5 separate regions of the Homo sapiens genome follow, and all the other regions are linked to region 1. Evidence: promoter capture Hi-C in human tissues and cell types (Jung and others, 2019). All regions are on one chromosome and are shown on one strand. The core of a region is centred on a gene start or on the middle of the fragment in contact, and the rest is flanking DNA. Distances in the headings are between cores, read along the strand shown. Region 1 holds the start of SCARF2 (scavenger receptor class F member 2). Region 2 has its middle 88 kb from the start of SERPIND1. Region 3 has its middle 110 kb from the start of SERPIND1. Region 4 has its middle 130 kb from the start of MED15. Region 5 overlaps MED15 (mediator complex subunit 15).

Region 1 (5,492 bases), core at 1,839-4,338:
ATGGGCTGTGAGCCCACACCAGCCTCACTGCAGGGCTGCACCACACGAAGCTTTCTTCCATCCTGATGCCCTCATAGGGTCTGCACCTGCAGACTCCTACTATGAGCCTTGTGCCCAGAGCCATCCCGCAGACAGGGCTGTAACTTGCCAAGGCCCCATCCTTTCCCAGTTGACTGGGCAGAGCATGGGGACAGCCATGTGTTCCTGCTGGCATCCTGTCCCGGAAGAGAAGGGGGCAGTGTGTGCTCCTTGATGGGAGGAGAGGGGATGGGGACGGGGGACTATCAGTCACTCTGGGCTCTCCTAAATGGATACCCCAAGGATTCTTGAGGGTAGAGACAAAGCCCTCAGAGTTGGCCTGTGCCCCCAGGGCTGTGGTATGTGGGTGTGTGTGTAACCTGAAGACCTTCCTCACTGTCCTGGGCCCTGAGTACCCCTGAGGAAACATGACATTGCCTTGGGGTGGCAGACCCAGTGTTGAGCCCTAGTGGGGCGGGATGGCTATACACTCCAGTGTCATCTCCCTTTCTCCTGAGGGTGAGGCGCAAGAGCATGGGTTCAGAGTAGGAACCCCACTCTGTGGGTCTCAGACCCAGCACTTCCTGTGTCTCTGCTACCACCTGGCAGGCCAGGGCAATAGCTCCTGCAGACCTCAGAGGTTTCTGGAAAGGAGGAGCACCAGACATGCCCCACCACTCTCCAGTGCGTCCTGACAACATGCTGGCTGGCAACATCTCACCTGAGCCACCAGCCACAGCCACAGGTTTGCAGGAGGCCTCTGGTCTGCAGGGGCAGGAAGGGCTCACTGAGGTCCTGCACAGCCTGGGGAGGGGTGGAGAGTGCCTTGGAGTTGGGCGCAGCCTGGCCCTGCCACTGTCAGCCTTGGGGCTAAGCTGGGTTTCTAAGGGTTACACCTGATACCCCGGAGCTGAGGCAGCCCAACTTGTGCTCTCCAGTGTGGCTAGGCTCTTGGTCCCTGCTTTCATGCAAAACCCTCCTCAGCCTTCAAAGTCCACTTCCTTCTGGCAGCCATCCTGGCCAAAACCAGCAGGCCAGGGCTCCGGGCTCCAGCAGTTTGCCTGCGTGGTGGTCAATTGTCTGTGGGTTCCTTCTACATCCTAGTGCCATGTGGATGATCCTTCATTCCTCCCATACTTCTCAGTCTTCCCCTAGGGGTGCAGTGGTGGTTGGGAGAAATGAGGGCTCTGCCCATGACACCCAAAGTTGCCATCTACTGCAAGGGATGTATGTACCGGGTCGTGAGGTGAGACTGGGGATGGTCCTCATCCTGAGAGCAGTGGTGGATAGCCACATGTGAGATTAAAAAGACTACTCTGGGTGGCAGACAGGGGTGGGCAGAGATCTAAGACATTTAGGAGGTCCTGGGGGATTGGGGGGCACCATCCAGGTGGTGCCCTCCCTGGACAGGTCTGGGGGAAGGAGAAAGGTGATGGAATTTGATATGCCTATTCATGACCTCCATCCAGCTGAGGTGAGTGTCCCCTCCAGCCCAGGGGGTCAGTGCCTCTAAAGCCAGGAGCTGGGCTGGGACAGACCTTGCAGCCACTGGGACCTCTGCTGGCCTCTATTGGGAGCCGCAATCCGGATCCTCCGTGGGAGGGGCCCCAGCACTGGGAGGGCATTGCTGAGGTCAGGGCTGTGCCCAGGCTGAGCTGCCCAGAAGTGGTTGGCCTGTTTATTTGTCCCCAGGTAGTTGCATTCGTGTCCACACTAGTTCCACTTCTCTTTCAGCCCACCCCACCTCCCTCCTGCACCAGCATGGCTGAGTGAGGGGCCTGCTCCTCCCCATCCCACTCTCTGCCTGTGCCAGCCTGGTGATGCCCATGGCCTTGGGCCTTTCAGTGGCTCCTCCTCCAAGCCCCCTCCTCCAGCCCCACCCTTCGGGGCTATCTGGCCACACCTGGACAGAGTCTGCCTGCCCTCCCTCAGTGAGCCTGTGGGCCGCATGTGGCCTGCTCCCCAAAGAACGGAGGTGCCCGCTCCCTGCTTAGGCCTTCTGCCAGCTCTCAAGTCCCCAAAAGACAAACATCCTCACTAGGACCTGGCTACACACGGGACATTTGTGCTCCCTGCCCAACTTCCAGAGTCGGTCTGCCCCAGTTGCCCCCCGGGGACCCGCACCCTGCTGCCTCCCAGTCCAAGTCCAGCTTCCCCGCTGGCTCCCTAGGGCCTGTCCCTCTGTCTTGCTCCCTTCCCACACCTTCCTTCTGCTCTGTGCTGTTACCCACCTTACCTGATGCAGGAGTTCCCACTCTCTAGCCCCAGCCTCTCCTGGAAATCCGACAGCCAGCAGAATCCACCGCCCAGGCTCCCCCAGCCCCCTTCACTCCTCAACTAGGACTGCAGGGTTTCCATCCCGGGGGTCTCCTTCTGTCTTTACCTCTACTTCCTACCGCAGTCCACAGCCTGGCCATTCTACTTCCTCTGTATCTCTCCCATCCGTCCCTACGGAGACCCCTTCCCCCAGGCCTCTGGTCCGGACCGAGTCTACCACAGGCCTCAAGCATCCTGCTCGGTCCGCCCCTTGCGAGCTCTGAGTGCGCAGGAGTGCGCAGGGGGAGCTGACCGCACACCCCAGCACTACAAGGACTTCGCGGTGGGGTGCTGTGGAGTTGGCTTTCGGCCTCGACCTGGGCTGTCTGCGGGCCCCACTCCCTTGGCCGGTTCCGAGGCGCTGGGAGCGGGGGTGGGCTTGCGGAGTCGCGTCCGTGTCCCCGATCCGCCTTCCCGTCCCGGGCCTGGCCTACGCAGTGGGCGCGCAGGGGCGGCTGCTTCGGTAGATGTCTAGGGAGCGGAGGGAAAGGCGCGGGAACCGGGGATTCCTCGGGCGGACCCTCCCTCCACCAGCGCTCGGCGGGCCTCCTCCAAGTTCGCCCCCAAGTTTGCGAGCGGCCAAATGGGGGCGGGGGCTGCGCGGAGGGGCGGTGGCTAGGCCGGAGGGTGGGGTCTGGAGCGCGGGGCGGGCGCTGCCGCCTGGCCGGCCGCGGCTGGCCCGGGATCAGGGAGCCGATGTGGAATTTCCTGCCCGGCTCGGCGCCCCTCCTGCCGCCCCCCGCCCGGCCTCGCACTCCGCTTCCGGCCGCTCTCGCTGCGGCCGCACCCGCGCCCGTGCCCGCCCCGCGCCTGCCCCGCGCCTCATGGAGGGCGCAGGGCCCCGGGGGGCCGGGCCGGCGCGGCGCCGGGGAGCCGGGGGGCCGCCGTCACCGCTGCTGCCGTCGCTGCTGCTGCTGCTGCTGCTCTGGATGCTGCCGGACACCGTGGCGCCTCAGGAACTGAACCCTCGCGGCCGCAACGTGTGCCGTGCTCCCGGGTAGGAGCCGGCCTGGCTGGGGGAGGGGGCGAGAGGGACGCTCTGGGCAGTGGTGTGGCGGCGCCGGGCATTGGGAGGGGGCTACCGGAACCTTCCTACGCCAAGTGTGGGCCCCTTCGGCTCCCTAGCCAGCGCGGCTCCGTTCCAGGCCCAGCCTCGGCCATGGGCCACGACAGTGCATCCCAGGGAACCCTGGACGAGAAGTCACCTGAGGGGAGGATGGAGTGCCGTGGGCACCCAGGGGATGACACGCGTTGTCCGGGATATCAGGAAAGACCTGGAAAAAGGGACCCTTGACCGAGTTGTGAAGTCCACGGGGAAAAGCTGGGGAAGGGCATTCAAGCCAAAGGAACTGCATGTGCTAAAGCCCCGCACTAGTCCGACTGGAGCCGGGAGTGGGAGTGAGGAGGAAGGTCAGGGGAGGAGGAGCGGTGCTAGCCGGGGAGGTCCTGGAGCAAGCCAGACTTGGAAAGACAGATTCGCGTCTTAGAGCGGGCGCGGGTGGGAGGGTGGTGACCCAGGCGAGCGTCGAGGAGCCGGCGCTCGAAGTGGACCAGAAGCGGGAGGCGGAAGGACTATGACAGGCACAGGGGACCGGAGGATGTGGGAACCCTGGCGACAACCAGGTGGGGATTCTGGGTGCAAGAAGGGGCCGCGCAAATGTGGGGCGCCGGCTGGGGAAGCCAGTGTGGGACAGGCAGGCGACAGGCCCGGCCGGTGGGGGGGCGAGTCCGGGAGTTTGCACGGAGGGCAGAGAGGTGAGCCCCGGACGCCAGGAGTTAGGAGCTGGGGTCGGGGGAGCCGGTGGGCTGGCCAAAGGCCACAAGGTCAAGGGCATCTCCACGCAGGGGTGAGGAGCGGGCGTGTGGGGGCGCCTTGGCGCGGATTGGAGACGCCGCACGGGCTGGCAGCCGCAGAGGCGGCCGCCGGGCTCCGAGCTGGGTCGCGTCGGGGCGCCTGAGCCACGGACCCGGGGCAAGCCGAGTCCAGGGGCTCGGCGCCAGAGACAAGGGGCTGCGAGGGGGCAGCGCGGGGTTTCCGAACTCTGGTCCGGAGGCGCGCAGACCCCTCCCCGCTGCGAGCCCCGCCTCCGGGGCGGGGGCCGGCCTGGCCCGCCATCTGCTTCGCATCGATGCCGCCGCCGCGGACTCCCGGGCCTCCCCGGCCCCAGGAATGCAGCGGCGGCGGCGGGCGGGGCGGTGCCTGGAGAGGGGGAGGGCGCGATCGCCGTGGTCTCTGTCTACTCACTCCAGCCCTCTTTCCCAGACAGGCCCGGGACCAGGAATGGGGGTCCGGTGCCAGGCTCTAGCTGTCCGGAGCCTGAGAGCCCTTTGCTCCCGCTCCCCTGGTCTGCAGACCTCCCAGGAGGCGCCTGCTCCAGGAACCGAGCCTGGGTTTGGGTTCCCATCCTGGTGCCACCCTACCCAGCTGTGTGGACCTGGGCAAGTCATTTGACCTCTCTGGGCCTGTCTCCACCTCTGTAAAATGGGATAGTGATCACAACCCCCTCATGGGGCTAAGTGGAGATCGCTGTGGTCATGAGTGGCAAGGGTCGATGGGAAGGACAGCCACTCTGGGCACTGCCCACCTGGGGTCTGGGTCATGTCTTTGTTGTCCTCCCACATCTTGCAAGGCTTCCATCAGCCCTTCCCTTTCCTGGGAGGCAGGAGGATGGGGAGAGGAGAGTGCAAAGCCAGTAAAATCCTATGCACCTACACTGTGCCAGGCCTGTATTGGTGTAGGGAAGCTGCAGTGGAGACCCTGACCCTGTGGCAGAGGAGACACAGTCCAGAAAAGCAAGTGTGTCTAGACATCTAGCAAGAGCTGGGAGGTGTTGGGTTGGGGAGTGCTGTTTCCTTTAGGGTGTTCTGAGGAGAACGGCTGAGAAGGTGGTGAGTGAGCACAGGCCTGCAGAAGAGCACGGAGGCCCTGTGGGTGTCTGGGGCAAGGTTCCCAAGGCAGAGGGCCTGTGGAAGTACAGGAAGGATCCAGGAGGCTGGGCAGAGTCCAGGAGGGGCTGGCGGAGGAGCTGCCAGAGAGTGAGGGTGGGCAGGCCACCGTGGGCTGCCACTGCTCAGAAGACTTGGGCTTTTCTTCTGAGGGCCATGGGACCCCCTGGGGGCTTTGTACAGAGAAAGGGTGGGATCTGACCAGGATTGGC
Region 2 (5,492 bases), core at 2,993-5,492, 250 kb before region 1:
CCAACATAGTGAAACCCCCTTTCTAGTAAAAATACAAATTTAGTCAGACATGGTGGCACGCGCCTGTAGTCCCAGCTACTCCGGCGGCTGAGACTGGAGAATCACTTGAACCCGGGGGCTGGGAAGGGATTGCGATGCGCCGAGATCGCGCCACTGCACTCCAACCTGGGCAACAGAGTCAGAGTCTTTTTTTTTTTTCTTTTTTTTTTTTTGAGACGGAGTCTCCCTCTGTCGCCCAGGCTGGATTCCAGTGGCCTGATCTCTGGGCTCACCGCAAGCTCCGCCTACCGGGTTCACGCCATTCTCCTGCCTCAGCCTCGGGAGTAGCTCGGACTACAGGCGCCCGCCACCACACCCGGCTGCTTTTTTGTATTTTTAGTAGAGACGGGGTTTCACCGTGTTAGCCAGGATGGCCTCGACCTCCTGACCTCGTGATCCGCCCGCCTCGGCCTCCCAAAGTGCTGGGATTAAAGGCGTGAGCCACCGCGCCCGGCCGAGACTCTGTCTTAAAAAAAAAAAGGCCGGGGCTGTGGCACTTTGGGAGGCGGAGGCGGGTGGATCACGAGGTCAGGAGTTGGAGACCAGCCTGGCCAACATAGCGAAACCCCGTCTCTACTAAAACTACAAAAAATTAGCCGGGCGTGGTGGCGGGCGCCTGTAGTCCCAGCTACTCTGGAGGCTGAGGCAGGAGAATGGCGTGAACTCGGGAGGCGGAGCTTGCAGTCACCCGAGATCTCACCACTGCACTCCAGCCTGGGTGACAGTGCGAACCTCCGTCTCAAAAAAAAAAAAAAAAAAAGAGAGAGAGAGACACAGAGAAAAATGTTTATTGACTTAATGCACTTTTATGCCTGTGTTCTTCAATTTGCTTAGGAAAGACCTACACTTGAGAGCTGGGACTGTGGCCGATTGTGGACATGAAATATATGGTTTCTTGCAAAAACTAGACACTGAATAATTACGATTTAGTTGAGCTAGAAATCCATTTGGTTTCTTCCATATTTTTCCAAAATTTTCATCCTTTTTTTTTTAATTTTGAGACGGAGTTTCGCTGTTGTCTCCCAGGCTGGAGTGCAATGGCGCGATCTCAGCACCTGCTGGCAATGGCGGGAGGCTAGGGGACGCTGGCTTGATAGGTACTGGAAGGAGAGGCGCGCGCACAAAAGACTTGGGAAGACCTGGCGCGCACAATGGCTGCAGATCCGCCAGTGGATCACTGAAGATTCCTGCTCTCCTGCTGAGGCGGGGATTGCAGTGAACTGAGATCGCACCATTGCACTCTAGCCTGGGCAACAAGAGGGAAACTCCATCTCACACACACACACACCAAAAAAAAAAAAAAAAAAAAAAAAACACACAAAGAAAAGAAAAAGTAGTGGCCAGGCGTGGCGGCTCACACATCCCAGCACTTTGGGAGATTGGGGCGGGCGGATCACGAGATCAGGAGTTGGAGACCAGCCTGGCCAACATAGTGAAACCCTGTCTCTACTAAAATACAAAAATTAACCAGACATGGTGGCACGCGGCTGTAGTCCCAGCTACTGGTGTGGCTGAGGCAGGAGAATCACTTGAACCCGGGAGGCGGAGGTTGCGGTGTGCCGAGATCGCGCCACTGCACTCCAGCCTGGGCTACAAAGCGAGACTTCCTGTCAAAAATAAATAATTAATTTTTAAAAATTATGTAGAAGATAAAAACTTTATGTTCTTTTTAATGTTTGCTGTCCATAAAATCATCTGGGCCTGGTGCTTTTCTTTGGTTTTGTTTTTTTGTGAGATTTTTGAGGGGATGGGATACAGATTTTTTTTTTTTTTTGAGACGGAGTCTTGCTCTGTTGCCCAGGCTGGAGTGCAGTGGCACCACCTCGGCTCACTGCCACCTCCGCCTCCCGGGTTCACGCCGTTCTCCTGCCTCAGCCTCTGGAGTAGCTGGGACTACAGGCACCCGCCACCAGGGCCGGCTAATTTTTTGTATTTTTAGTAGAGATGGGGTTTCACCGTGTTAGCCAGGATGGTCTCGATCTCCTGACCTTGTGATCCGCCCACCTCGGCCTCCCAGAGTGCTGGGATTACAGGCGTGAGCCACCGCACCCGGCCGGGATACAGATTTTAAAATAAACATTCAATTCCTTTAATGGTTCTAGATCTAGACAAACTTTTCTGCTTCTCCCTACTTTGTTTTTATGAAGTTATATTTTTCTTTTGAGACAGAATTTCTCTGTTGCAGTCACGCGATCTCGGCTCACTGCAACCTCCGCCTCCCAGGTTCAAGTGATTCTCCCGCCTCAGCCTCCCAAGTAGCTGGGGTTACAAGCATGTTCTACCACACCCAGCTAATTTTTGTATTTTTAGTAGAGTTGGGGTTTTACTATGCTTGCCAGGCTGGTCTCGAACTCCTGAGGTCAGGTGATCTGCCAACCTCGGCCTCCCAAAGTGCTGGGATTACAAGCATTAGCCACCCCACCTGGCCTGAAGTTATATTTTTCTATAAAACTGCCTGTTTTGATATTTTAAAAAAATCACTGGCATAACTTGGTTTATGTAATGTCCTTATGAGTTTTGTCTTAATATTATTTATTTATTTTATATATTTATTTAGAGATTGAGTCTTGCTCTATTGCCCAGGCTGGAGTGCAGTGGCCTGATCTTGGCTCACTGCGACCTCCGCCTCTCAGGTTCAAGCAATTCTCGTGCCTCAGCCTCCTGAGTAGCTGGGATTATAGGCACCCACCACCACACCCAGCTAATTTTTGTGTGTGTTTGTGGTTGTTGTTGTTGTTTCTTTTTGTGAGACAAAGTTTCGCTGTTGTTGCCCAGGCTGGAGTACAATGGCGCAATCTCAGCTCAGCACAACCTCCACCTCCCGGGTTCAAGCAATTCTCCTGCCTCAGCCTCCTGAGTGGCTGGGATGACAGGCATGCGCCACTACACCAGGCTAATTTTATATTTTTAGTAGAGATGGGGTTTCTCCATGTTGGTCACGCTGTTCTTGAACTCCTGACCTCAGGTGATCCGCCCGCCTCAGCCTCCCAAAGTGCTGGGATTACAAGGGTGAGCCACCGCACCTGGCCATTTTCATATTTTTAGTAGAGACGGAGTTTCACCATGTTGGCAAGGCTGGTCTCAAACTCCTGACCTCAAGTGATCTGCCAGTCTCGGCCTCCCAAAGTGCCAGGATTACAGGCGAGAGCCACCGCACCCGGCCTAGCCACCACGCCCGGCCCATTTATTTCTAAGTAGAAAATACATTTGTATATTTCAAAATTCAGAAGGCATCATCTCAACCCTGTCCCTATTCCTGCAGTTTCTCAGATACAACCAAATAGATTCAATTTCTTGGTATCTTTCTAGAGATAGTTTATGAATATAAACAAATATCCAAATAAATAAATATGTTCTTTTGCTTTTTTTATACAAATATTACTTTATTGTACCTATTGATCTGTTCCTTTCTCTTTCTTTCTTTTTATTATTTTATTTTATTTTTTGAGACAAGGTCTTGCTCTGTGGCCTAAGCTGGAGTATAGTTGTGCAATCTGGGCTCACTGCAGCCTTGACCTCCGAGGCTCAAGCGATCCTCCCACCTCAGCCTCCCGAATAGCTGGGACTATAGGGCCATGCCACCAAGCCCGGCTAAACTTTTTGTATGTGTTGTAAAGGCAGAGTTTCACCGTGTTGTCCAGCCTGGTCTCAAACTCTTGGGCTCCCGCGATCTGCCCAGGTAGGCCTCCCAAAGTGCTGGGATTACAGGCATGAGCCACCATGCCCAGCCTCCAGCTCTTATAGTGGACCTGATATTATAATGCCCACTTCCTATGATGAAAAGGAACTGAATGAGTGTGGAATCTCTAGGACCACGCTGGCATATAATGGGCCCTTGGGGTTTAGTTTAGTAGCAAATTAAAAGGTGCCCATTCCTCAAAACCTTCTATAGACGTTTTTCACGAAACTGCCATGGATAAATATCTGCAAATCAAAGCAAAACTTTAGGGACAAACTACATCAGTCTTTGCCTGTGAATTTTGCATCTATGATGCAAATGACATCCCTCTAAGGTGTTACCCTTCTGCAGTGCACTACCTGTGCAACTGTCCTCAGCAAAGATAGAGTAATCTGCAGTAACTGAGTGGTGGCTGCCCCCTTTACAGAGGCATAAGTTCTCAACTTGCCACAGTCTGCACCATTCTGCTTTGTTACCACTTGTGTCTGCACTGAGTCCCCACGTCAGCCGTGTGCTAAGTCCTATGGAGCTGGCCTTCACGGTGCTCACACACCTGTACCCTCCTCTGTGCCCCACGGACCCTGCACTCATCTGGGCCTTCATGTGCTCTCACTCATTCCTGTCACACAAACCCCTACTAAGTACTGCACATTGAACTGGGCATGGTATCCAAGATGCCCAAGCAAGTCCCTGCCCTCCCCATGTTCATGTTCTGGTGACCTCAGGAAACTATTAAAATATAAGGAGGGGTGTACACTCTACTTTTGAGAATGCAAACGGGCACAGCCTTTTTGGAAGGCAATTTATCATCATGCACTGAGAGCCTCAAAACTGCCTGTGCCCTTTGATACAATCATTTGACTAATGTGCTCTAGAGAAATAACCAGAGATGCATAAAAGATTGATGCCTAAAGATGCTCATGGGGCTGGATGCAGTGGCTCACACCTGTAATCCCAGCCCTTTTGGAGGCCTAGGTGGCTGGATCCCTTGAGGTCAGGAGTTTGAGACCAGCCTGACGAACATGGTGAAACCCCAGCTGTACTAAAAATACAAAATTAGCCAGGCATGATGGCGCACACCTGTAATCCCCGCTACTCAGGAGGCTGAGGCAGGAGAATTACTTGAATCCTGGAGGTGGAGGCTGCAGTTCTCACCATTGCACTCTAGCCTGGGCAACAAGAGCAAAACTCTGTCTCAAAAAAAAAAAAAGATGCCCATGGAAATGCTGTTTATCATAATGAAAATTGGAAGTGTCCCCAATAACAGGGGATTGGCCAACTAAAATTTGGATATGTTAAATGTTAAAAGCAAATGTTAAAAGCCACATGCTCAAAGAACACTTAACCATTCATGAAAATACACATGATTAATGTTCAGTGAGAAAATTGGGAAGAAAAAAATCACATGGCAGCTGGGTGCAGTGGCACGTGCCTGTAGCCCCAGCCATTCAGAGGCTGAGGTAGGAGGATTGCTTGAGCTCAGGAGTTGGAGACCAGCTGGGGCAATACAATAAGACCCTGTCTTTAAAAATCAATCAATCAATCACATGGCTTGTCTGACAGTTCCTCAAAAGCTTAATCATAGAATTACCATATAACCCATTAATTCCATTCCTAGGTATATACTTGAAAGAAATGAAGACATATGTCCCCACAAGAACTCCAGACTGCTGGTTCCATGGGATCTCACCTGGGGCACCTGCCTGGGTTCTTCATTGGCTGAGAGAGGATAAGTGGAGGTCTGGGCATGATGCTCCCTATCCACTGAGGTTTC
Region 3 (5,492 bases), core at 1,054-3,553, 230 kb before region 1:
GAAAATGGGATATGAAGTAAACTGGTATGCTTAAAAGTAACTACATCAAGTGAATTCATTATAATGTCTCCAAGCAAGGCAAGACCACCCTCATGAGATAAGAAATGAGAGGCTACTTATTTTGACTAAGTTGACTCAATGACTTGGGGAACCAAGGACTATATGTACATGGATACTTGTTTTGTACCCCCCCAAAAAAATGTGTTTCCACTGCAGTATTTGGGAACCCATTATTTCTTGATTCATGCTCTTATTTTCATATAAGAGAAGCGTTGATACCCCAAAATCAACTTAAATTTTAATTAACCAAATATAAAATTTTTAAAGACAAAAAAAATTTCATAATAAGAGTTAAGCCAACAGAAAGGGAATATGAAACAACAGAGAAAATCAATAAACCAAAATTAAATGTTTGAAAAGATAACAAAATTGGCAAATGTTTACTTAGGTCAATCAAGAAAAAGAGAGAAGAGACTCAAATTACTAAAATCAGCAATAAAAGAAAACCCATCACTGCCAGTATTACAAAATAAAAATACAAGACAATGCAGTGAAAATCTTATGTTAAAAAAATCAGATAGCCTAGATAGAATGGATGAATTCCTAGAAAGACACAAACTAAAATAGATGAAAGGACTAAGGAGAAATAGAAAATCGAAATAGATCTACAGAAGGTAAAAAGATTGGATTGTAATTTTAAAAACTTACAATAAAAATCTCAAGTAGCTTCCCAGGCAAAATCTATCAAACACACTGAGAAATTAATATCAATTGTTCACCAACTCTTGCAGAAAATAAAAGGGGAGAGAACACTTCCCAATTCATTTTATAAAGCCAGGATTACTGACACCAAAACTGTATCACAAAACAATATAGAACAGTATCTTTCATTTTGTGTGTGTGTGACAGAGTCTCACTCTGTCATCCAGGCTGGAGTGTAGTGGTGCAATCTCAACCCACTGCGACCTCTACCTTCCAGGTTCAAGCGATTCTCCTGCCTCAGCCTCCCAAGTAGCTGGGATTACAGGCGTGCACCACCATGCATGGCTAATTTTTGTATTTTTAGTAGAGACAGGGTTTCACCATGTTGGCCAGGCTGGTCTCGAACTCCTGACCTCAGGTGATCTACCCACCTAGGCCTCCCAAAGTGCTGGGATTATACAGGCGTGAGCCGCCACGCCCAGCACATTGTTTTATAAAATCAAAAGTCTTCAACAAAATATTGCCAAACTGAATCCAGAAACATATAAAATAGATTATGCACTATACGCAGATGTGATTTACCCCAGGAATGCACCATTGATTTAATATTTGAAAATCATTGCATGCAAACACCATATTAACAGAATAAAAGACAAAAATATATAAGCATCTCAGACAGAAAGCATTTGAGAAAATATCACACATTCTAATAATAAAAACACTCCAGGCTGGGAGCGGTGGCTCACAACTGTAATCCCAGCACTTTGGGAGGCTGAGGCGGGCGCAATCACGAGGTCAAGAGACTGAGACCATCCTAGCCAACATGGTGAAACCCCGTCTCTACTAAAAATACAAAAACTCAGCCAGACATGGTGGCAGGCGCCTGTAATCCCAGCTACTTGGGAGGCTGAGGCAGGAGAATCGCTTGAACCTGGGAGGCGGAGGTTGCAGTGAGCCAAGACCTCGCCATTGTACCACTCCAGCCTGGGCAAAAAGAGTGAAACTCTGTCTCCAAAAAAAAAAAAAAACAACAAAAAAAAAACAAAACACTCCAAATTTACGAACAATAAGGTAACTTCCTGAAACTAGTGGTAGTTACCTATGAAACTTACAGCTATCATTATACTCAGCAATGAGAGGGTGAATGACTAATCAGTTACAAGAATGTCCACTCTTGCAAATTCTATTCAACATTATATTGTAGATTGTAGCGAGGTGTAGTAAAGAACGGAAAATTTAAAACATCCTTATTGAAAAGAAAATAATTTTTTTATATTTACACATGGCACGATCTCATATATAATTCTAAGAAATTCAGTAAAATACTATTAGAAATAAATTTGACGTAGTTTCAAGATATAAATGCAATACTAAAAATTTAATTTTATTTCTATATACTATCAATAAACTGCTTTAAAATGGTATTAAGGAAACAAACCCATGTATAATACCAACAAAACAAGTAATAAATTTAGAAATTAACAAGAGCAGTGCAAAATTCATACTTTGAAACCTGCAAAATATTGTTGAAATAAGTTGAAGAACAATTAAATAAATGAGAAGTGGTGGAGCGAGATGGCAGAATAGAACTCTACAAGATTGTCTCCCTGCAGGAACATCAAATTGAACCACCAACAATCTAAGCAAGAGAATACCTTCACAAGAGCCAAAGAAATCAGGTGACAGATCACAGAACCTGGTTTTAGCTTAAAAACAAGAAAAGACACATTAAACAGGGTGGAAAAGACAGTCTTGCAGTGCCTATACCATCCCTCCCTCAACCCCAGGCAGTGCAGAGAGACAATGTGTCCACTTCCAGGAGGGAGAAGAGAGTGTGCATTAAACTTTGCCTTGGAGCCCAGTACCAGCTCTGCTACAGTAAAACACAGCACTGGGCAGAACCCCATGGTCCTTGATTCCAGGCCGGTGCCCACAGACAGAGCATTTAGACATGACCTGGGCTAGAAGGGAATCCACTGCCCGGTGGGACAAACCTGAGTCCTGACTTCCTTCACCACCAGCTGTTTAAAGTGGCCTCAGGCTCTGAATAAATTTCAGTGGCAGGCAGGCCATAGCCACTGTGGTCCTTGGGTGAGCCCCAGCAACCAATGATGTGCTGGTCTGGGAGGCTGTGGGTTTCATATATGACATCCGCTACAGTGGCCACAGGGCTGCCTGTGTTACCCTAATCCCAACTCCAGGCAGTGCAGTGCCGGGAGAACTCCTTTCCTATGCAGGAAAGAGGAGAACCCAGTCCAGGCTCCACCACGGTGGACACAGCATCAGGCAGAACACAGTGGCCCTGATCCCAGGCAGGAGCTCCCAGACACCTCTAGACCTGCCTGGAGGTAGAAGAGAACCTGCTGCCCTGGCGGGATGGACCTAAACCCTGGCCAGCTTCACCACCAGCAGAGTAGCTCGGCCTCAAGACCTACATAAGTCAGCAGCAGTCAGGCAGTAGTGGCCACAGGACTCAGACAAGCCCCAGTGCTGCTCTGGTCCTAGAGGCTGTGGGCTTCGGGTATGTGGTGCCAGCTGCAGTGGCCATGGGAGTGCCCAAGCCACCCTTCTCCCAGATCCACAAAGCTTAGTACCCAGACTCCTTCCAATGGGAAGAAGAGGGAAGTGAATGAAGCACTTTGCCTGGGAACCCAGGGAACCCCTCCCTTATCTTCTCCAAGTCCATCAGGGCCCTCTGGGACCTCAGTCCTGCAAGAGTCACAGTGAACCTGAGCTTAGGGCACCCTGGTGCTGAAACAGCTTCAGTGACCCCAGCCTTAGGGAACTCAATAGTCAGTACCCTTGGAATTTCTGGAAGACCATCTAGAGGAGGACAGGTACAAACAAGACCAGACTACAAAGACTGGAATAAATACTGACTTATTCAATTCCCAGGCATGAACATAGGCCCAAATGCATTAAGAACATTCAGGGAAGTATGACCTCACCAAACAATAAACAAGTCACCAGTGACTAACCTAGGAGAGATAAAGATGTTAAACTATTCAGAGAGGGAGGTAAAAAATAGCTGTTTTGAGGAAAATCAATGCAATTTTAAAAATATAAGTAATTCGGAAATGTATCAAAGAAATTTAACAAAGAGATTGAAATAATTTTAAAAGACCACAAAAACCTCAAAGCTGAAAAATATAATGGATGCACTGAAAAATGCATGAGAGGGCCTCAACAGCAGAACTGATCCAACAGAGAAAGAATCAGTGAGCTCACACAGGCCATTTGAAATACACAATAGGAGAAAAAAGAAAAGAAAAAAAAGAATGAAGGCAGCTTAGGAAATCTATGGGATAGTATCAGAAGAGCAAATTTAAGAGTCATTGGTCTTCAAGAGAAAGCAGAGAAAGAGTAGAAAGCTTATTCAAAAAGATGGTAACAGAAAGCTTTCCAATTCAAGAGAAATATATAAATATCCAGGTACATGAAGACCAAAGATCATCAAGCAGATTCAAGCCAAATAAGACTACGCCAAAGTGGCCAGGTGCGGTGGCTCAGGCCTGTAATCCCAAGTACTTTGGGAGGCCGAGGCAGGTGAATCACTTGAGGTCAGGAGTTCGAGACCACCCTGGCCAACATGGTGCAACCCCATCTCTACTAAAAATACAAAAATTAGCCAAGTATGGTCGTGGGTGCCTATAATCCTAGCTACTTGGGAGGCTGAGCAAGAGGATTGCTTGAACCCAGGAGGCAGAGGTTGCAGTGAGCCAAGACTGTGCCACTGTACTCCAGCCTGGGCAACAAGAGCGAGACTCCATCTCAAGGAAAAAAAAAAAAAAACTATGCCAAGGCATATAATAATCCAACTCCAAATGTCAAGGACAAAGAGGATACTATAAACAGCAAGAGAAGTGAATCAAACAACATATTGAGGACCTTTGATATGTCAGGAAGCAGAGTTCTCAGCAAAAATTAAACAGGCTGAGGGCCTCCCTCCTATGGGAGAAGTGGGATGACATATTCAAAGTGCTTAAGAAAAACAATACCAATGAAAAAAACCACACCCAAAGAATAGATCCTTCAAAAATGAAGAAGAGATAAATACTTTTCCCAGACAAAAGCTGAGGAAATGCATCACTACCAAACCTGGTTTACAAGAAATGCTAAAGGGAGTTGTTCAGTCTGAAAGAAAATGATGCTAACATGTAACAAGAAACCATCTGAAGGTATAAATCTCATTACTAAAAGTACACAGATAAATTTAGAATACTATAGTTGTGATGTATAAGCAACCTATATCTTTCATGTGAAGGCTAAAATACAAAATTGTTAAAATAATAATATAACCCAACAATTTTTAAAGGGATAGGCAATATAGAAACATACTGAGCCTGTAATCCCAGCACTTTGGGAGGCCAAGGCGGGCGGATCACAAGGTCAGGAGATCGAGACCATCCTGGCTAACATGGTGAAACCCCATCTCTACTAAAAATACAAAAAATTAGCCAGGCGCGTTGGCTGGCGCCTGTAGTCCCAGCTACTCGGGAGGCTGAGAATGGTGTGAACCTGGGAGGCGGAGCGTGCGGTGAGCCAAGATAGCGCCACTGCACTCCGGCCTGGGCCAAAGAGCGAGACTCCGTCTCAAAAAAAAAAAAAAAAAAAAAAAAAAATACTGAAAGACATCTAAATACAAAATGTGTGTGTGTTGCGGGGGATAGAGTTACAGGGTAAATGTTTTTAGTTTTTTTTGTTTCTCTCTTTTTTGTTCTTTGCAATCAAGGTTAAGTTTTCTTCAGTTTAAAATAACTCGTTATAATTATGTTGTTTAGCCTCATGCT
Region 4 (5,492 bases), core at 1,511-4,010, 200 kb before region 1:
TTTTCTTTCCTCTCCTGACAGGGCTTACCTACTGCAGACACCTGTCCACTGAGAGGACCCACTTGTCATCCCTGGTCAATTACATGATCATGTCTCTGGACTTGCCCTGTGATGCTGGACAGGAGCTGACAGCCGGGATCTGGGAGCAATACCTTCAGGATAGCACAGCAAGGTTTAGCTGGGCTTGATCTGCAGTGGTGTAGAGGCTGCAAAGGAGGGGCGATTTTGTTATGTGAGAAATAAGCCCACCTACTTGTGGGGACTCAAGATGACTTGTTTGGATTCTGCATATGCAAATTGAAGATCTCCTCCTCTTCTTGAGAGTTCCAAGACCCACAACTCACTTTTGCCCGTGAGTGTGGAGATTGAAGGGGATGGAAAACATGCTCACCTGGGATGAATAAAGAGAAAGTCAGTGAGTAAGTATTTATTATGAAGCATTAGTTTGTATCACTCCTGCACAAGGTGCTGAGACATGGCCCCAGCCAGAAGGAATTTACAGTCCAGTCAAAACTGCCTAGAAGTGTGACAGCAGCTGAGTTGGAGGGAGGCAGCTGAACCAAGAAAACCTTATCAGCACTATTTGAAACTTTTATCTCATCTGGCTTGGCGCCTGAGGTTCTCCCATTAGGTAAGTCACCTGGAATGCTTTCTAATATTTTCTTATAAGAATACAAATGTTCCTGGAAGGAAAATGTTTATGCTTGAAAAGAGTCTCATAATCAAATAGTTTGGGGAAGTTTAAGTTAAACAGGTATCCTGAAGGATATCTTAGAACCTTGGCTATTCTGGTATTCTTGTCACTCTCAGGAAATTGAAGGCGTGTGGGAGAGCATATGGAACATTCCTTCAAATGCATTTGGTCATAGAAGCCTTTACTGGAAAATACCTCCCATGGCTAGTAAAAAGCAAAAATGACTGAGAAGCACTGGTTTATCTCTGCCAAGAACAAAATCTAGGAGGAGGTACCTGTTTCCTCCACACTGGGTAAATCTAGTGGCCCAATCTGCTGTGCACCTTCCCACCCAGGTGCGTTCTGGGGAGGGTTGAGCTGGTTGAGTGTATCAAGAGTTGATTCCTTTGGATGGCTGAGTGCTATTCCATAAGATGGATGTAGCACAGTTTAACTGTTCACCTGCTGATGGATGGCTGAGTTATTTCTAGATTTTTGGCTATTGCTATTAAAGCTGTAATGAACATTCACGTACGGTTGTTTGTATGAGCACAGGTTGTCATTTCTCTGGGATAGATGAGTCAGAATGTAATTGCTAGGTCATACGGTAGTTCCATGTTCAGTCGTATAAGAAACTGCCAAACATCAACAGTAGCATGTGCCTTTAGTCCCAGCTACTCTGGAGGCTGAGGCGAGAGGATCACTTTAGCCCAGGAATTTGAGTCCAGCCTGGGCAATATAGGGAGACCCTGTCTCTAAAGAGAAAAAAGAGACTGCCACACTTTTGCAGTGGCTGTGGTATTTTATATGCCCACCAGCAATATATGAGTGATTCACACTTATATCTTCAGCAGAGTTTTGTCTTGTCACTATTTTTTATTTTAGCCACTCTGATGTGTGTAAATTATATTTCATTGTGGTTTTAATTTGCATTTCCCAAATGGCTAGTGAAGTTGAAGATCTTTTCATGGGCTTATTTGTCCATTGTGTATCATCTCTGGTGAAATGTCTGCTCGTGTCTTTTGCCCATCTTCTAATTGGATTGTTTGATTTTTTGTGTGGAGTTTGCAAGTTCCTTATATACTCAAGATAACAGTGCTTTGTTCATATATGTTGTTTGAAAATATTTTCTCCTAGTCTGTAACTTGTCATCTTTTTAACAAGGTGTTTTGCAGAACAAATTTTTAAATTTTGATGAAACTTAGCTTAGCAATTTTTCCTTTTGTAGACTATGTTTTTGGTGTCAAGTCTAAGAAAATTTTGCCTAGTCCTAGCTCCTGAAGATCTTCTCCTACATTTTATCCTACAGGGAGGCACCTGCAGCTGGGCTGGCTTTCCAGCTATTTTAAGCCTCAGGGAATCTTGGTTTCTCCAGGCCAGCTGTGCTGGGGATGAGGTGCCTGAGCTCATGGGGAGACCAACATGGGCAGGGGGCTGACCCGAGGCTAACTGGGGCTGGAACAGCCTGAGATGACAACAACCAAGGACAGAGACAAAATAGAATATCCATTTTCCATCTGAATGTCTCTCCAGCCACCCAGAAAGTCAATTTCCATTATTATGAACCTAGCTTCACAGAGGGGAAACTGAGGCTGAACCCGAGCCTCCAGCTCCAGCCACAGGCCTGGCCCAGTCAGGGCTCCTCAGCCCCTGGCCGCCTCCAGTCTTGGGACATCGCTCCTCCTGAGACCCCAGACAGGTGCTCTCTACTCCCCACTCTCTGCCTTATTTCTCCCCAGCACAAACCCCATCTCCTACACCACATCGCTCCCTTGTCTATTGGGTTGATTTACATCTCCCCCAAATACGAGTTCTCCGAGCCTGGCTGTGCCTACCTTGCCCCTTGCTGTGTTCCATGAGCAGGAGGTGCTCCCTTGTCTGACCAGGGTCCCCTGAGAAGTGGGCCCATCTGGCTGGTCTGGGGTCTCACCTTCTTCAACCACTCTGCCCAGGAGCCCCGGGACCCAGCACCCCTTCCTTTCAGAGCTGCTCCGTGCCCCCGGGCCCTCACAGCCTTCCTGTCTCCTGTGGGTGCCCTGGCCAGGCCTGGCTGGTGGGTCATCCTAACCATGGGCTACTCTGTCCTCAGAGTGGACATGGGGCATCTGATGGCCCCAGCTCTGTGACACAGGCCACAGAAGTCACCCAGTCCCTCACTGGCTCTTGTACTTGCCTCATCGAAACATTCTCCCTGAAGCCCGTGGTCTCCCCAGACTCATTTCTCATTGGTCCCCACATGTGCTGTGCTATCGCTGATCGGAAAATGGGGTCAGGGTCACCCCCGGCCTCTCATGAGCTGGAGTGAGCTTATCCCCAGGGGCTTTAAGCAGGGCCCACGTGAGACCACGAACCCCATGGTGACTGCCCAGGTGTGGCCCTTGGTAAGGCTGTCCTTGTTGATGTGTCAGGAAGGAGAGTCGAGGGAGAGCCCCCTCTGAGAGGTGTGACTGTCATTGTGCTGCGTCACTAACCGGTGGGCATTGCAAGTGGACAGTGACTTGTTTCCTCTACCTCCCGGGAAGTTCCCACATTCTAGTTGGCTGAAGCTTGGTTTTGGACCTTCGTGTTGGGGGGAGTGGGTGCTTGCTGGGATCCAGTGGCCTCTTTTTGGAGCATCTGGGTCTGGTTTGCTTGTTACCAGTGAGTGTCGGTGTCCTCAGGAGAATACTGGCCGGGGACCAGCCCCCTCTTCCCACCACTGGGCTCAGTGAGTATGAGGGGTCAAGGGCCCCTCCACAGGCCTGGCTGGGGATGCTCTCTTGGTGCTTTTGCAGGCCCCATGGGGGGCCAGGTCAGATAGGAGAGTCATCCGCTTAGCTCAGTAGGAGCTCCTAGCCCTCACCCAGAGCCCCAAGCAGCCACCTCCCCTCCCATTTCCTCCCCTCCCCCAAGGCCCCTCCATACCCACCGGGGCTATTTGGGGCTCTGGTTTTGGCTGTAGAGGAAGCCACAGATGCCCCTCCCCCATCTGATTTAGAGCAAATGCCTCAGCCCTGGTCACAGCGAGGCAGGACCAGGGCCGGGACAATCCCTCCTCCCTGGACTCCAGTGCTCTTCTCTGTACCTTTAGGGGCTCTCCCAGTGTGGACCTACCCTGCCCTGGTGCTGTGGGGCCATCACTCCTGAGGATATGACCAGGGTCTGAGCTGGGCAGGGCAGCAGGTGCAGGGCAGTGCAGGCACAGGGCCAGCTGGGCCACTCTCAGGCTGGCCGGAGCCTGGGTGGCCCTGGTTGGTGCCTCCCTCCTGGTCAGCATCCCCTCTATAAGGTGGGCAATGGCAGCTCTAGAGCTCAGGGTCGCTATGAGGCAACCGTGGTGCATTCCTCATGGTCGGCCTGCCCTATGTGAGGTGGACCATGGCTGCCCTGGGCCTCAGGGTCACTGTGAGGGTTGATGAGGGACTGTGATGTTCCCACTGTGGCCCAGGGATGACAGCTGGGGCTCCGTCAGATGGTTCTTTCAGTTAAATCTTCTGCTAAGTAGGGGGAGATGCCCCTGCTGCCCCAGGCGCTCCCTGGGCCAAGCTCCAACCTTGGGGACTTGAGGACAGGGGGGTGCAGTGGTGTCTCCCTGTTGTCCTCCAGCTCATGAGCTTCTCCAGGGCAGGTGGTCCTGGTCTTGCACCAGCACCTGGCCCACAGCTGTGCTCACTGAGGGTTTGCTGAATGAGTGTGTGAGTGAATGAATGAAGGACTGAGGAGCTGTGGAAAGAGGCTGGGGGTGGGTCAGGCAGCAGCTCACCATGTTGACCCGGGCAGGTCACTTCCCTTCCCGTGGAGCCTCAGTTCTCTCTTCGGTGAAATGGGCACACGAGCACCTGCCCCTGCTCTGCTTTGTGGACTCCGAGGACCCTCCTGCTTCTGCCTGTCTCCTACACCGGCTCGATGTAGACTGAGGAGTGTAGGTCCCCAACCCCACAGAGCCACAAGGGGATTGGTGTGTTCAGTACTGTCTCCTGGCCCTGCCTAGCACAGCCTCAAGAGGGAAGGGTGACCTTGGGTCAGGGGCCTGGGCACCCACTGTCTGTGCTGCCCTGAACACCTGCAGGACCTGGGCAGGCTCAGCCTCCTCAGTCTGGCCTCAGGGAAGGGGGTTAGCCCTGGGTAGACCCAGGGTCAGACTGGGCATCTACCATCTGTGCATCCTTCAGCAGGTGTGGAACCCAGCCAGGCCAAACCCTGTCTCTACCAGAGCAGGGACCATGCAGGAAAGACTAGGTGGGGCTGGGCCTTGCTCTCTCTCCTGGCACCTTCCTCTCGGAGAATGGCTGGAGCCCCAGACCCAGGGAGCCTCACAGAGAAAGTCCCGAGGCAGGACCTGGTTTTCCACCTGAGGCCCAGGATCCAATGGAGAGGTGTTTCCCAAAAAGAATGCCCCCCAAAGGCAGCCAGTGACTTTCTGTGCCACACACTTGAGAACATCTCCGTGTTCTGGGGCTGCCAGGCAGTCACCTGTGCAGGTGTCGGAGCCCAAATCCAATCAATACTAAGGGATTGGGTAAAACACATCCCCACTGCCTGGAGTGGTGGTTCACACCTGTAATCCCAGCACTTTGGGAGGCCAAGGTGGGCAGATCACGAGGTCAAGAGATCAAGACCATCCTGGCTAACACGGTGAAACCCCACCTCTACTAAAAAAAAATACAAAAAATTAGCCGGACATGGTGGTGGGCGCCTGTGGTCCCAGCTACTCGGGAGGCTGAGGCAGGAGAATGGCGTGAACCTGGGAGGCGGAGCTTGCAGTGAGCCGAGATTGCACCAGTGCACTCCAGCCTGGGCGACAGAGTGAGACTCCGTCTCAAAACAAAACGAAACAAAA
Region 5 (5,492 bases), core at 940-3,439, 150 kb before region 1:
GTCCTGCAGATTACCTGTGCTGACCTGAGCCCACAAGAGGGGGCAGCAACAGCCCCTAAACCACTTTCTCAGAGAAAAGAAAACAAAGTAATCTTTTTACCAAGAAAAGTGAGTTGTGTTCCTGGGCCTGATTAGAATGGAGCTGGTCAGTGCCTGCTGCCCCTGGCCACAGCCTGCCTTTGGAGGGGACTAGGAGAGCAGGACCAGGCTCTGGTACTCCCCGAGTTGCCGGGCTGCCCTGAGACATTGCAGAGTGCACATTTTGAGCGGTGCAACCAGCAGGACAGGCTCCTGCATCTCTGCACGTCCCCTGAGACCAGCCCTGAAGCAAGAAGCCCCACTGGGTATAGGGTCCTGACTAAGGGCAGCCTGGCAGCTAGCTGGTCACCCACTGAAGCACATCTGACCCTCAGGGCACCTTCAGAGGGGAGGAAGGGACAGACCCCAGTCCGAGACCCCCATCTGGCACCCAGAGCACTCTGGTCAGTGGGAGAAGGGAGCCAGGCCCTGTTCCCCACACTGGCCTGGGCACTGCCTGGGGGAAGTATGCTGCCTGGATGCTCAGACCCACCTGGGCAGGTCATTTCTGGCTACTGTAATGACTTTCAGAGACAGGGAAGCAGAGGCCTCTAACGCCAGGGCTTTCTGTTGGGTGGGCAGCCAGCACAGGGACAGGCAGATGATGGCACTCCCCGATGATCCTGTCCCCACACCTGCGAAAGCCCACCACACTTCAGCAGTGTAAGTGGTCATCCACCAGCTGTGGAATACCAACCTTCTGCAGGCCCAAGAGGTGAGGCCCTGGGTGGTGGGGATGGCCCTGGGCAGCCTGGTGCCACCGCAGGCCCCACCACACCCCTGCCCCTGCCTTTCAGCTGCAGCACCTCAAGTCCCTCCTGGAAGGGAGGCAGAGGCCCCAGGCAGCCCCAAGGCTGACAGCATCCTGACAGGACAGCGAGCCCAGATTCATGGAGAAGGGGACACAGTGATGAACAACTGACAAACACAGGAATAATAAATTTATTATAATCACAGATGGTGGGGTAGTGCACATAAAAAGGGGGGACCTCTTCTCACCAGAGGGTGCTGGCCGGTGCCCAGAGTGGCAGGCAACATAGGGAGGCGCTCCCTGCATGGCCCGGCCCGCTGCCAGGCCCGCTGTCTCTGGGTGCTCAGTGTGTGGTGCTCTGAGGACACGGGTCCTGAGGGCCTTGCTCTTCATCCTTCACAGTGGGGACACGGCCCTCATGCCAGCGGCACAGGGGTGCCGGCAGCAGGATCCCTGACGCCCCTGCTCCCTGGGTGCCCCACGGTGCTCAGCAGGAATGCCGTGAGGGCTGAGGCCCAGCTGGTGGCGGGGAGCCAGCAGCACCTATGGGCCAGCCCTCCCTCCAAAAGGCAGCCTGTGCCCTGGACTTGCAGGCTTCCTCGGGGGGTGCTCCACCTGCCCAAAGCAGCATAGCCTGAACCCAAAACTGTGACCAGAGAATCCCATGTGTGTTTTAAGGGTTTCCTATGTCCTCTGTGTTCTATAGGAACGAGTAGGGGTGCGTCTAGCACACACGAGACGCTCTAACAACACCCTGAGTGCACCCTCACGCTGCTGAGATGGACCTGGACCGTGGACAGGCCACGGTGAGAGCAGCCTGAGGATCGCATCTGGCTCCTGGGAGGAAGTCACATGGAGGGCCTTCTCTAAGAAGTCGGCCAACGCCCCCCAAGCAACCCGCTCCACTGCGCCTATCCCAGTTCTGTACAGGTGTGGGATTTCGTTTGGCAGGTCCCCAAGGCAGAAGATAAAAGCAGGAAAGCTAACCTAACCCCAGGCTCTCTAAGGAAGCCAACACCTAGAAGTGTCTGACAGGAGGCGTGTGTCCTTGGCCCCGATGAGGCTGCGGGCCATCCCTGCAGTCTTGGCTAGGCGGCTGAGAGGCAGGCCTGGTGGACGCTCTGGGCCCAGGTGTTGAGCAAGGCGGTGACCGAGTGCTTGTCCGGGAGCTGCAGCAGCCTGGAGGTCATGCAGCGGTGCACCGACTGGAGGAAGGGGTTGGCGTCTGCAACAGAGCAGTGGGCGTGAACCTAAGGCGGCCGGCGCTGCGCTCGCTCCTGGCACACCCGGCAGTGCTCTGGGAAGGGGTAGCCCCAGGCGCGGGCCGAAGCACCAGGAGGTGATGTGTCCTGCACGCTGCCCGGCCTTTGGGCTCTCCTCCCAGAGCCTCATCGTCAGTGAGAACCAAATCTGAACAGGATCTAGGGCTCTGCCTCTAACAACCTTGGGGACCCAGCCTGGCTCTACTGTGTGCCAGCTCTGCTGTGTGCCAGCTCTGCTGTGTGCCAGCTCTGGGCTCAGAGACTGCCCCCTGCCACCGTGGTTCTCTCTGGAGCCACAGCACCCAGATTGGGCCCTGTGTGCCCAAGCTACCAGTGGAACCTGGCAGCCCTGCCAAGGTAGTGGCCTCTGGGAAGCTAGTGGCCTCTGGGAAGAGCGGGGACTGTCCCTGAGCCATGGGCTTACTCACCCCTCACCCACTGAACACAACCACCCTGGACAGCTGACGTGACACAAGTTGAAGGGGCGAAGGGACACAGTGGGAGCAGAGACCCTTTTCTCTCAGGCGACCACTGGAAAACCCGCTGCTGTCTGTGCAGGAGGAGCCAGAAGAGGGGAGGGAGGGGCCTGAGCTGGGGAGGGGCAGGAGCACACAGAGGCTGTCCCTGCTGCAGTGGAAGCCTGGTTTTCCACAATGACCCCTGCTTGCCCTGGGTCCCCAGACAGCTCCTCTGGGTCTACCTACCGTACTGCCACTGCCGGTCTATCCACAGCGGGCTTTGGGCAGGATAGTCAGCGGGCACACTGAGCTCCAGTGGTGGCACACTTGGGAGGTCCTTGTCATCTGCAACACAGAAGGCTCTATCTGTGACCTGGACAAGCCCCGGCCTGCCCTGCCTCACAGCCCTGCTCTGGAACAGGACTCCACACCCAGGGAGGTTCTGGTGAAGCTTGTGGCAAAGCCTGGAGGAGGTCTCTCTGACTCTCAGATTTCCAAACGTGAAGCCTGGAGTGCTCTGCATTGATGGGTGCCCAGAGGTCCTGCCTACCACCTCCCTAGGGCCCAGGCAAGCAAAGCCACATCTGTGTTGGGGAGGTGAGAGTGTGCGGGCTCTGGCAGTGGGGACTGAGGCATGGCCAGGCTGTCTGGAGCCCGGTGTGTGTGAGGATAGAGCAGACAGCCTGGCGGGGCGTGAACACAGGGTGGGTTCTGGGCGCTGTGCCATCTGGCTTGGATGGCAGAGTCCTGGGGCTGCGGTCAGGGCCTGCTTTCCCACACCAGTCCCGGCCCTCTGGACACTCACCCAGCTTGCAGATCAGGTGGACAGTGCCATTGTTGCTGCAGTGAGAAGGGTCCAGGTTTACCAGGAACTTGGGGTCCAGCCTGGCCACCTCACCCTGGAGCACACTGGGGATGCTCTGCCGCTCATCATCCTCAAGCCTGCGCTTCCGGGTGCACACCACTGGGGCCCTGGGGAGGCGGCATGGTGACCACACCTGGCACACGCGGCCCAGGGCTGGCCGCCCTCCGCAAAGCCCAGCCCAGCTGGACATACGTGATGGGTGGGCCGTGAATGGCGGTCATGGCTGGAACGAATGTGCGGTACAGGGAATGGTTGAAGACAGGTGAGCGGATGTTGGCCAGGACGGCATCCAGGAGCGGCTGGCATAGGTACTGCTGTTTGGTCGGTGGCACCGGGGGCGGTGGGGGAGTGGGCTGGAGACAGGATGGGCACGGTCAGCAGCCCGGGACCCGAGGGTTCCCCATTTAGGGGGCCTTCACACCCCAGGCCCATGGTCACTCACAGTCAGATTCCCGAGGCCTCTCTCACAGCCTCCACCCTTGTGCAGACAATGTTGGCTGATCCTGGGAATAATCCCCCACCCCCACAGCCTATCCTCCCTACAGTCCCTGCCTCCTCTGAAATGGGTGAAGGAGGCACCCACGGGGGCCGTAGACAGAGGGTGACTTCTCCCATGTTCCCACCCAGCACAGCAGACCTGGCCAGGAAGCCTCGTGGGCAGGGTCCAAGGTCAGGCCCGGCCCCCGCCCAGATGCCCTGACCTTGAAGGCCCTCTCAGCAGCACTCCCAGGAGCTCTTAGGAGAGCCCTGGTTCCCCTAGGGGTGTCTGGCATCCCACTCACCACCGCCATGTCATTCTTGAGTTTCTCCAGGGCGATCTCACACTTTTGCAAGGTCTTCAGGGGACACCTGCAGAGAGAGAGGACTTGGGCTGAAAGAGTGGAAGACATGGCAGTTCTCAGGCTCAGGATCCCAACTACTGCCACTGGGCCTCAGCCATCAGAAACCTCTGCAGGAGCTCCTACCAGTTGACCAGCTGTTCCCAGACCCAGAGTTGAAGGCAGGCAGCCCTCAACCCCAGGAGCTGCTTGTCCCTGGTTGGCAGAGTGAGGTGATGGGTCAAGAGAAGGGACAGTGGCCAGGCCCCTGATCAGGCTGTGAATGCCTCATTGTCATGTAGGCCAGTCCCTGCCCCACTCATCCCTATAACCCTAACAAAGGATCAACCCATGAAGACCTGGAGGACCACCCAATAGTGACTGGCATTCTATCCAGACAAGCAGAACAGAGAGACCCTTCTAGACAGGGGTTGGGGGATAGCCTGAGTTGAGGTGAAAGGGAGGTATATGCCAATGCCCATGCAGTTTGGAGGTACTGCCCGAGCTCTGATCCTCACAGCAGCCTGTGGCCAGCAGCCCTGCCTTCCACCTGCTTCTCACCAGCGCCACCTTGTTTCATTTTCATGACAACACACGTGGGCTACAAATGGGGTAACTGAGATGCAGTCGCCTGCCCATGGTCACCAGCAAGTCAGGGGCAGAACTCCAGGTCAGGCTCAGGCCCATCTGGGCCAGCTGATGGTCAGGCCACTGCAAGCTGGGCCCCTGGCTGCTGACTGGATGAGGTCTGGCTGTGATGGCCCAGCATGAGGGCCACAGCAGCAGCCAGGAATAGGGCAAAGGCTGGGCATGGGCCAAGATGAAGCCTGGGCTTGAAGCCCCAGCACACACCAGAGTGGAGCCTTGGAGGCCTCTGGCCAGGGTCCAAAGAGCTGCCTGGTGCCTTTGTTAAACCCACATCATCACCAAGTGCCCATCCATGGCTGGGCTATCTGTGCCCTTGTGGACCCTCCGTGGGCTGTGGGCAAAGCTCACCGCTTCGAGGGGTCTGTCAGAATGTCCAGAAGGCTCTTCATCTTACTCAGGTCCTTTTTTCTGTCTGGGACAGAAGAGGGTACACACTAAGACACAAGCCTGGTGGTGTCCCCAGGGTGCAGGCCCCTGCCCTGGCTGCAGCCTACCTTCGTTCTTGTCGATCTTGTTGATCATGCGGCGCAGGGGCTCGATGTACTTCGACAGCTGCTTCAGCTTGTCCAGGTACTGCTGCTCCTCAGCCTGGCTGGAGCCAGCTGGGCTCAT

What was found. Contacts are between HindIII fragments. The study calls those that stand out against the background at their distance.
Region 2: a fragment that was not itself captured here is called in contact with the fragment with the promoter of SCARF2 in region 1 in 4 of the 25 tissues and cell types used here (dorsolateral prefrontal cortex, heart right ventricle, mesenchymal stem cells and 1 more).
Region 3: a fragment that was not itself captured here is called in contact with the fragment with the promoter of SCARF2 in region 1 in 6 of the 25 tissues and cell types used here (IMR-90 fibroblasts, bladder, dorsolateral prefrontal cortex and 3 more).
Region 4: a contact is called between a fragment that was not itself captured here and the fragment with the promoter of SCARF2 in region 1, in 4 of the 25 tissues and cell types used here (IMR-90 fibroblasts, bladder, lymphoblastoid cells and 1 more).
Region 5: a fragment that was not itself captured here is called in contact with the fragment with the promoter of SCARF2 in region 1 in 1 of the 25 tissues and cell types used here (dorsolateral prefrontal cortex).

Annotation. Positions count from the first base shown.
Region 1 is chr22:20,435,421-20,440,912 of GRCh38, reverse strand. It overlaps SCARF2 (scavenger receptor class F member 2), which reads left to right and starts at 3,088. Exons shown (of 11, transcript NM_182895.5): 1 at 3,088-3,331. The coding sequence starts at 3,159. It overlaps LOC107985588 (a long non-coding RNA gene), which reads right to left and starts at 2,917. Exons shown (of 2, transcript XR_001755623.2): 1 at 2,402-2,917. The HindIII fragment of the contact is 17,878 bases long and covers 1-5,492 here.
Region 2 is chr22:20,683,618-20,689,109 of GRCh38, reverse strand. No RefSeq gene overlaps it. Among named protein-coding and RNA genes, the nearest start is that of SERPIND1, 88 kb to the left of the region's middle. RefSeq lists a silencer at 1,948-2,168. The HindIII fragment of the contact is 7,577 bases long and covers 454-5,492 here.
Region 3 is chr22:20,661,757-20,667,248 of GRCh38, reverse strand. No RefSeq gene overlaps it. Among named protein-coding and RNA genes, the nearest start is that of SERPIND1, 110 kb to the left of the region's middle. The HindIII fragment of the contact is 5,707 bases long and covers 1-5,156 here.
Region 4 is chr22:20,633,750-20,639,241 of GRCh38, reverse strand. It overlaps the pseudogene LOC100421121. Among named protein-coding and RNA genes, the nearest start is that of MED15, 130 kb to the right of the region's middle. RefSeq lists an enhancer at 4,601-5,343. The HindIII fragment of the contact is 6,289 bases long and covers 1-5,492 here.
Region 5 is chr22:20,583,130-20,588,621 of GRCh38, reverse strand. MED15 (mediator complex subunit 15) reads right to left here. Exons shown (of 18, transcript NM_001003891.3): 12 at 5,375-5,492; 13 at 5,229-5,292; 14 at 4,197-4,263; 15 at 3,607-3,767; 16 at 3,355-3,521; 17 at 2,796-2,894; 18 at 1,003-2,054. The coding sequence ends at 1,918. It overlaps LOC124905084 (a long non-coding RNA gene), which reads left to right. Exons shown (of 3, transcript XR_007068013.1): 2 at 661-793; 3 at 876-1,034. Among named protein-coding and RNA genes, the nearest start is that of MED15, 78 kb to the right of the region's middle. The HindIII fragment of the contact is 9,714 bases long and covers 1-5,492 here.